2 separate regions of the Homo sapiens genome follow, and region 1 is linked to region 2. The links are contacts of gene promoters, found by promoter capture Hi-C in blood cells and fetal thymus (Javierre and others, 2016). All regions are on one chromosome and are shown on one strand. The core of a region is centred on a gene start or on the middle of the fragment in contact, and the rest is flanking DNA. Distances in the headings are between cores, read along the strand shown. Region 1 holds the start of LOC124904268 (a long non-coding RNA gene). Region 2 holds the start of OSBPL1A (oxysterol binding protein like 1A).

Region 1 (4,741 bases), core at 694-3,193, 37 kb before region 2:
TGTATATATTTCAAGGCAGTCATTCTCCATCAAATGAAACGATACGTGTCAAGTTGTCTGGGCATCGCCTGAAACACAGTAGGCCTTCAATACATAAACATGAGAAATGGTCTCCTAGGAAATCCTAAAGCCCAGGATTATACATATATTCTGTATGTTAGGTGAGATAGAGAGAATTTCTGAGACACAGAACATAGGAAGCATTTATTGTATTTGTTTATTTACTATTTTAGAGACAGGGTCTTGCTCTGTCATCCAAGCTGGAGTGCGGTGGTGCCATCATAGCTCACTCACTGTAGCCTCAAACTCCTGGGGCTCAAGCGATCCTCCTGCCTCAGCCACCAGAGTAGCTGGGACTACAAGCACATGCCATACATCCAGCTTTGAGTTTTTTAGAGATGGGGTCTTGGCTGGGCACGGTGGCTCATGCCTATAACCCCAGCACTTTGGGAGGCTAAGGCAGGCAGATCACTTGAGCCCAGGAGTTTCAGACCAGCCTGGGCAACATGGCAAAACCCTGTCCCTACAAAAAATACAGAAAATTAGCCAGGTACAGTGGCACATGCCTGTGGTCCTAATTCCTGGGGAGGCTAGGGTGGGAGGATCACTTGAGCTCTGGATGTGGAGGTTGCAGTGAGCTGAGATTGCACCACTGTACTCCAGCCTTGGCGACAGAGCGAGACCCTGTCTATAGAGAAAGAGACAGAGACAGAGAGAGAAAGAGAGAGATATGGTGGGGGGCGGGAAGAGGGGGTCTTGTTATGTTGCCCAGGTTGGCCTCTAACTCCTGACTTCAAGCGATCCTCCTGCCTTCGCCTCCTGTGTAGCTGGGATTATAGGTGTGAGCCACTACACCCGGCTCTGGAAGCATGTGTTTTACAAGCATTCTCAGCTGGGCGTGGTGGCTCATGCCTGTGATCCGAGAACTTTGGGAGGCTGGGGTAGGAAGACCGCTTAAGGTTCAAGACCAGCCTGGGCAACACGGTGAAACCCTGTCTCTACAAAAGATTTTTAAAAATTAGCCAGGTACAGTGGCGCACGCGTATAGTTCTAGGTGGAAGGATCTGTTGTGCCCAGACGTTCAAGGCTGCAGTGAGCTATGAGGGCCCCACTGCACTCCAGCATGGGTGAAAGAGTGAGATCCTGTATCTAAATAAATAAATAAAAATTAAAAAAAAATAAAAGTATTCTCAATTCTGCTAAAAGGTCAGTGCAACAATCCAAATATTCATTATACATACCATATTCCTATTTTAAATTGATTATAAAAGGCATAAAAACTTTATAACTGCATCTGAAAGTAAAGTAAGGAACAAATACTAAACACAGTATTTTAAAATTCTGGTATTCTGATTTTTACCAAAGAACACTAGGGGGCACTAATGTACCAAGAAAAGCCCAAAGGTGCCTCAAGAGCTGGGGAACTGCATGATTTTTTTGTTTGTTCTGTTTTTGTTTGAGACAGAGTTTCGCTGTGGTCACCCAGGCTGGAGTGCGATGGCGCGATCTCGGCTCACTGCAACCTCCGCCTCCCAGGTTCAAGTGATTCTCCTGCCTCAGCCTCCTGAAGTAGCTGGGATTACAGGTACCCGACACCAGGCCCAGCTAATTTTTTTGTATTTTTAGTAGAGACAGGGTTTCACCATGTTGGCCAGGCTGGTCTTGAAGTCCTGACCTCAGGTGATCCACCCGCCTTGGCCTCCCATAGTGCTGGGATTACAGGCATGAGCCACCGTGCCAAGCTGGGGAGCTGCATTTTTTAAATATTCCAGAGGATAAGAGTTTAAAGTGCTTTATAATAAGCCAAATCCCTTTTCAACTCAACATTCTACTTACTGAATCACAGGATCATAAGATATTTTAAAATTATCTTCATGGTAAATGATCACATAGGAATGAGATAACTTGATTCTTTTCATGAGAATTAGAAACCAAACTCTTTGCACAATTCAGTCATGCTTAGATATTGAGCACATACATTTTTTAATTTTAATGTTTCCTACATAACACAATCATGTAACTTCAGCTAAATGTTATTTTCTAAGACAACAGATAACAAAATACAGCAGATCTTCAAACAACACCATTTCATTCAACATCATTTCATTGCAATGTTCACAAGAAAAAAAAATCGATTCTTGGAGGGGGCCAATGTCTGTTGGAGTTCACATGTCCTTGTGTCTGCGTGGGTATCTCAGGTACTCTGTTTTCTTCTCACCTCCTAAAGATGTGCATAGCAAGTGAACAGGCATGTCTGAACTGTCCCAGTGTGAGTGTGGGTGTGTATGTGAGTGGCCCTGTGACAAGATGCATCCTCTCCAGGCCTGGATCCCCCTGTGCTCCCTGAGCTGCCGGGATAGGTTCCAGCCACCCTCACACCTGAACTGGAATAAATGGGTAAATAATTATCTTGTTTTTACTAATGTTTCTAAATGTATGAATAGCTCACATTTATTTCAATGTTTAATATCAGAAGTGTTTGCTCTTCATTTAGAAGTGTGGTAATTTTCTTTTCTTTTTTGGCACAGAGTCTCACTCAGCTGCCCAGGCTGGAGTGTGGTGGCACAACTGCGGCTCACTGCAGCCTCAACTTCCTGGGCTCAAGTGATCCTCCCATTTCAGCCTCCCGAGTAGCTGGGACTACAGATGCATGCTACCACATCTGGCTAATTTTTGATTTTGTAGAAGTGAGGTCTCCCTATGTTGCCCAAGCTGGTCTTGAACTCCTGGGCTCAAGCAGTCCACCTGCCTCAGCGCCCCAAAGTGCTGGCATTACAGACATGTGCCACTATGCCTGGCAGTGATGTTTTTTTGTGACTATAATTATTCTGTAGGAACTTAACTCTTGTTTATATGCATTGGCCTATGGTGAAGTTGGTTTCCTTATACATCGTTTATCCAAAAGTTAGTTTCCAAAAATCTATCATTGACATTAAGTGAGGACTTACTGTATATATGCTGATGCTCATGTCAAACTAAGGCTCAATTTAGCATGGTCTCACGTTCAAAGTTCAAGAAAATAGCAGAAATGGCCAAATATGTAAAGAGCTGAACATAGATAAATGAACTTATTTGATCTAGGTGATTACAGAGATGGGAGGTAAAACTTACCTTGTGCTCATGGGGACACAAAAAACAAGACATGATAATTCCTTGCTAGCAAGATTAATGCAACTTAGTAGCAGAGTTAAGACACAGACTACAGACTGGGTGCAGTGGCTCCCTCCTATAACCCCAGCACTTTGGGATTGAGAGCACTTGAGGTCAGGAGTTTGAGACCAGCCTGGCCAACCAACATGGTGAAACCCTGTCTCTACTAAAAATACACACTATGGTGGCACATGCCTGTAATTCCAGCTACTCAGGAGGCTGAGGCAGGAGAATCACTTGAACCCGAGAGGCGGAGATTGCAGTGAAGTGAGATCGTGCCACTGCACTCCAGCCTGGGTGACAATGGGAGACTCCATCTCAAAAAAAAAAAAAAAAAAAAAAAGACATAGACAAAAATAACACTAATACAAGGTAGAAGACGAATGAAAGTGCTGTACTGTGCCCAGGAATCCTGGAAGAGTATAGTTTCCTTCCAGCTGCAAGATGTTAGGAAAGAATTTATGGATATTACATTTGAGTAGCACTTTGAATGGGTAGATCTGGGCCATGTAGAAATAGATGACAATAGAATTTTCTTAGGTATATAGAAAAGAATGAGCAAGACCATAAAAAAAAACAGCAAGTAGTTCACGTAGTCAGGCAAATCGAGCCATCTGCAGCTCATATTTGAAACCCCACAAAGTCAAGCATAGAAATTAACCACAACCTTTATTGTTTATTATAAAAGGTTCTTTTTTCTCAGCTTGAGTTAAGACTCCATATCTGGTTCACAAGTATCAATTTATGAACAAATAGACAAGAGTGGTATAAAATGTACTAATTCAAACATGCTTAGCACATACAGAATTGACTCATGGTAACGTATTAAAAGTTAGTTAAATCTAGTCATTAGAATAATGAAAAGTGTGAAACAATATAATAATAAATTTGTTCTTTAACTCATGATAAATTCACATAAAGCTTCCAATCACGTGCTTACGAAATAACCTTTAGGTATCATGTTGGACTATGGTCAACAACTAGAATATACAAGAAATACACTCTATGTCATAGTTAATTTTGCATATCATTTAAATAATCAAAAAAACATTAATATGGGGTAAAGCAACTTTTAGCTATGAAAGGATAAGACAACTGTTATCCTGAAAAAATGAGCATAAAGCTGGACAAAATTGTCAAAACTAACCATTTTGTGGTGCTGGATATCCATTAAAGAAACAAACTGAGAGGCAGTTACTCCAGAGGAATGGCAGGAACTTGGAGGAAGAACACTGGGAGTCTTTAGCTTTCTAGCCACAGGCTATTAGTCCTCCCCACCTCCCCAAACAAGTCTGACCAGGGCAGGCCTGGCAGTGAAACCCAGCAGTTTTGCTGCCAGAGGGAAATGACTTGATTTAAAACAAAAGGCAAAAACCCAGTAAAAGTAGCAAATACAGCAGAAAACAAATGAGAACACCTACATGCTTGCTAGCATGAGGCTGCTTTTTCTATTAGAGTGTCTAGCTTTCTACCGCTGCTATAACAAATGACCACAAACTCGGTGGCTTAAAACAACAGAAAGAAATGTGTTACCTCACAGTTCTGTATTTGAGAAGTCCAGAATAGGTCTTGTTGGGAAAAATCAAGGTGT
Region 2 (4,479 bases), core at 1-2,500:
CCCCCTATAAACTGTAGACAAAGCCCACCTAGTGGTTTAGAATTAGGGAATTAAAAGGTGGATTTTGTTACTATGCTGTAATTAAGAAATCTTCACAATTCCAGCTTGGGGTGGGGAGGGAGGGGGGTGGTTCAGAATTTATACCTATCAAACTGCTGCAAAAAATTCATTGTATCGGGGTTAGACTGCAAATACTTCTACCCCTCAAAACGAATCTGCAAATTATTTCCCAGATGCTGAGTAAAGAGGTGAGGAGGTTCCAAACTCCAAATCCAGAATGCACCTATTACAGGGCAAAGACTGAAGTTTTCAGGGAAAACACATCACCGATTTTAAAGCTGATTTAATTATATTATTAACTATTCACAGACACCTAATAGCCACATTTGCAACATTCAAGCAACCTTATTTAAGCTAAGAATATCACACTGCCCACAGTTCCATTTCACAATACCGTCTGCCTAAAAACGACAACTTGAACTGAAAACTAATACTAAATCAGAATAACCCTTTTCAATGCCTCCTGCCAATCATTAGGGCAGCGGGATAAGTGAATTGTTAAAGTCTATTGTGCAGCTGCGCTCTCATTCAGTTTCAGAATCTCCCTTGGATATTCGTTCATGCTTGTAGAACCGACCACGCGGTACATTGGGAAACGGTCACATGAACAATGCGTGACTTCCATTGTGCATCAATCCTCCTCTTGTTAGGAGGAAATTAAAAAGTCACATGGACACACGAAAGTACCGAGAAGGCACGCAGCTGAAGATCTGGTAGGGGATGCATGCGGCACCAGCATGGTCGTGGCACCCGAGTGGGAAGTGCAACAAACGCCAACATCTTGTTACTTTTAACGCCTAACTTCCTGCAGCGCTGGAGCAGCCAGCGGCCGCCGGGAAGCCGAGCTCGGCTGCAGCCCTGCGTCGCCGCGCCACGACCCGACCATCCTCTGAGACGCCCGGGACGGGAGCGCCCACCCCCAACCAGGCGCGGACAGACCTCCCGAGCGCAGCCCGGCGGGAACCCGTCAGCGCGGGAACCGGCCTCGAACTCCAGGCGTGGACAGCCGCGAGAAACTGACCTACGCGGTCACCCGGGCTCCCAGAGCTCCCGAGGCGGTGGCCACGACCCCAGGCTTCCCGTCCGCCCGCCCCACGTCGAGGAAGTGGTCGTCACCAACTCTGGCTGGCACTCCCCGAGGACGCTCGAGCCCGCGTAACGTCTGTCTCCGGGACCCGGCGCCGGGACCACGGCGGAGCGCGAGGTGGCGCCGCCCCTCCCCGCAGCCCGCCCCTGGAACGCGCATCCTCCTGGCGAGCTGGCATCCCTCCCGACACGTGACCGCAGCGGGGACACGCCCGTTCCCCGCCCACTCCCCGCCCCTGCCTGGCCTGCCCACGCCCCCGGCCCGCTCCTGTCCCGCCTGGGCCACCGGCGCTGGTTCCAGGTTTTGCCAGCTACTAGGGACGCGTAAAGCCTTCGCGCTCCTCCCACCACACCCCGAGGGAAGAAGTGGCAGGCCTTACCCGGAGACTACAAGGAACCGCCCGTGTGAGCCAGTGGAAGACTCGCGTCCCCAGGCAAAATATAAGTCCTGGGTTAATAGTCTGAAGTCTGTCATTAAGCAATAGGTTATCCAGCTGCCCAGATTTTTTTCTTTTTTGCTTTGGCTGCAACTCGACCCGTGGGAACTTAATTGGCAATGTAAATTAGACAATTTACAAAAAAACACCTCCTTTTACTTTCACCTGTGAAAGGAAGCGCTTAAAATGCCATACAGGTGTAACCATTATAGAATAGATATGCGTGAGACAAGGATTTACAAAATTTCCTCACCTCCTCTCCTCCAGATTCCATGCACAAGGCGTCTAGCTAGAGGAGTTAGCAAATAGTCTATAACGTGAAGGTTCAAACTCTAGTATAATTCCACCGTTTTTGTTTTTTTCTTTTTTTGAGGCAAGGTCTCACTCTGTCTCCCAAGCTGGAGTGTAGTGGCGCGATCTCGGCTCACTGCAGCATCGTCTTCTGGGTTCAAGCGATCCTCCGGCCTCAGCTGGACTACAGGCGGGTAATCAAGGGACTGGGACTACAGGCGCGCCCTGCCGCGCCCGGACAAGTTTTGTATTTTTAGTAGAGACAGACTCTCCCTATGTTGCCCAGGCTGGTCTCCAACTCCTGGGCCTCCCAAAGTGTTGGGATTACAGGCGTGAGTCACCCCTGCAGGCCACAGCTTTGCTTTTTAAAAGCATTTCTGCATAACTAAAAAGACAGGAAATTACGAGCATACGAAAACTGATTTCTGCTTTCCTGAATTTTCTAAATGTATTTAATGAACATGTTCTTTTGCAATGAAAAAGTAATAAATAGGTATCATTTTTAAAAGGACTGTAGTTTTTCCATCAAGTCTAGAAGCATGTATTGAGAACCTATAATAGGCCCTTTTGGTCATTGTGATATGTGTGAAACAGCATATGGCAGATCTTTTGAAATGATGTTTTTGGATACCACAAGCAATCCTGCTGGTGTATCTCAGGCTGGCATCATCTTTTATTAACAAAGCAGGCACTTTACTAGCACAATACTTCAACTGCAAAATGTGTGGTAACTAAAGCAGCTGTATTTGTCTGGAAAAGAAGAAACCTCAGGGCTTACTATCTAAGGATATTGAACCATCTTTTTTTTTTTTTTTGAGATGGAGTTTTACTCTTGTGCAGTGGTGCAATCTCAGCTCACTGCAACCTCTGCCTCCGAGGTTCAAGCGATTCTCCTGCCTCAGCCTCCTAAGTAGCTGGGACTATAGGTGCGTGCCACCATACCCGGCTAACTTTTGTATTTTTAGTAGAGATAGGGTTTCACTATGTTTGTCAGTCTGATCTCAAACTCCTGATCTCAGGTGATCCACCCACTTCAGCCTCCCAAGGTGCTGGGATTATAGGTGTGAGCCACCACACCCAGCCTTGAACCATCTTCATAGCCAAAATAAAACTACCGAAATAATGACAATAATAATTGGCTACTGAAATAATTTTCCATGATTCCATGAAAGCCTTCATTCTCTCTGTGATGATTTAATTACCTAAATTCACAACTTGCACTTTGCAACTCCCTTCTACAGTTTGCAAATGAAAAACAGATTGCAGTCAATAGGAGGATGAAGTAGTAATCACTACAGTTATCAATAAGAGAAGTTCCAATCTTGATAGCATTACTATTTATACTGTATCTTTAAAGGACTTTATTTGGTATTTCCATAAAATATGCAGAAAAGATATCTCATGGGCATTTATATTATTGACGGCTAGTACAGGTAAAATCACCATGATGGCATAACAGAATTCATTATTCTAGAACACTGTGTCTAATGGAACTTTCTGCGATGATAGAAATGTTCTATAATTCTACCTTGTCCAGTACAGTAGCCACTAGCCACATGTGGCTATTGAGTACTTGAAATGTGGCCAGTGTGACTGACGGTTTCAAGTTTTATTTAATTTAAATAGCCACATGTGGATAGCAGTTACCATATTGGGCAGTGCAGTTCTAGAATAACAAAACTATCACTAGATTGTCCCCGTCATATCATACTCTATTTTAAGAAACATTTGGCAGAAGTAGAACCTCTGGAACTAGTTAATAAATATTTTCCTTCATATTCCTTTCTGAGCTTTAGGCAGATAGATATTTTAACTTTGCAGATGCGGCATATTAAAGTAACTAGTAATATAATCCCTACATATATAAGTAGGAATTGCAATGGAAGCTCTGACTGGTTGTGAAATGGATTTGGGAGTATCTAACCCCTGGCCCTGCCATTCCCGGGCCTGCCTGACCCACATTGAAAAGTGAACCGGGTAACTTAAGACTGGGATGGGCTTCATCAGAATTGTTCATTGCCTGGTTCAGACTGGATTCACCTTGGACTCTTTTGTTTCAGGAAACTTAGGAGCCCAAATCTCTCTACTGTCATCCCCCTCCCCGCATTCCAATGACCTCCTTCAGAATGTGATCCTCTTTAGATTGTAGTACCTAATGTCTGGTCCTTGCAGTTTTGTCTCAAGCCTGAGACATCCCAGAATGCACTTAGTGCATTGCATGTTTTAAAAACACTCCCCTGGTGCCAGTGTGACTTTGAAGTGGTGCAGGAACACGCTAAAGGCTTAAGTCTCATTAAAAGGAGGATTTTATGGACTGAGACTTTGGGGAGGGCTTTGGGTAATTACTGCCTGGAATACTGAAAAGTAGGTCAGATGTCATCAGGCGAATGCAGATAAACCATTGAGTTGAGGGAAATGAATCATTCCCTTATACCTACATATGAAAGACTTTGTAGTTACTATTAACTCCAGACCATCAAAGCTATGAGGTCATTGGGAGTTTTTCTCTCTTAAAAGTGGTCTAAATTTGTTATTTGTCATTTGTGCCATTTCACTCAGTTTATTTAATAACAGGAATGAATTGGTATAGTTTCAGATATTAAAT

The links. The method cuts DNA at HindIII sites, captures the fragments that hold promoters and counts their contacts. A CHiCAGO score of 5 or more calls a contact.
Region 1: a fragment that was not itself captured here is called in contact with the fragment with the promoter of OSBPL1A in region 2 in 1 of 17 cell types (M2 macrophages); the score reaches 5.9 in M2 macrophages.

What each region holds. Positions count from the first base shown.
Region 1 is chr18:24,358,527-24,363,267 of GRCh38, forward strand. All of the region lies in intron 4 of OSBPL1A (oxysterol binding protein like 1A), which reads right to left. LOC124904267 (a long non-coding RNA gene) reads left to right here. Exons shown (of 3, transcript XR_007066312.1): 3 at 1,466-1,504. LOC124904268 (a long non-coding RNA gene) reads left to right here and starts at 1,550. Exons shown (of 3, transcript XR_007066314.1): 1 at 1,550-1,585; 2 at 2,323-2,397. The HindIII fragment of the contact is 4,252 bases long and covers 1-4,069 here.
Region 2 is chr18:24,396,574-24,401,052 of GRCh38, forward strand. It overlaps OSBPL1A (oxysterol binding protein like 1A), which reads right to left and starts at 1,251. Exons shown (of 28, transcript NM_080597.4): 1 at 1,082-1,251. The region is part of intron 2 of LOC124904268 (a long non-coding RNA gene); the gene reads left to right. RefSeq lists a silencer at 1,185-1,314. The HindIII fragment of the contact is 23,089 bases long and covers 1-4,479 here.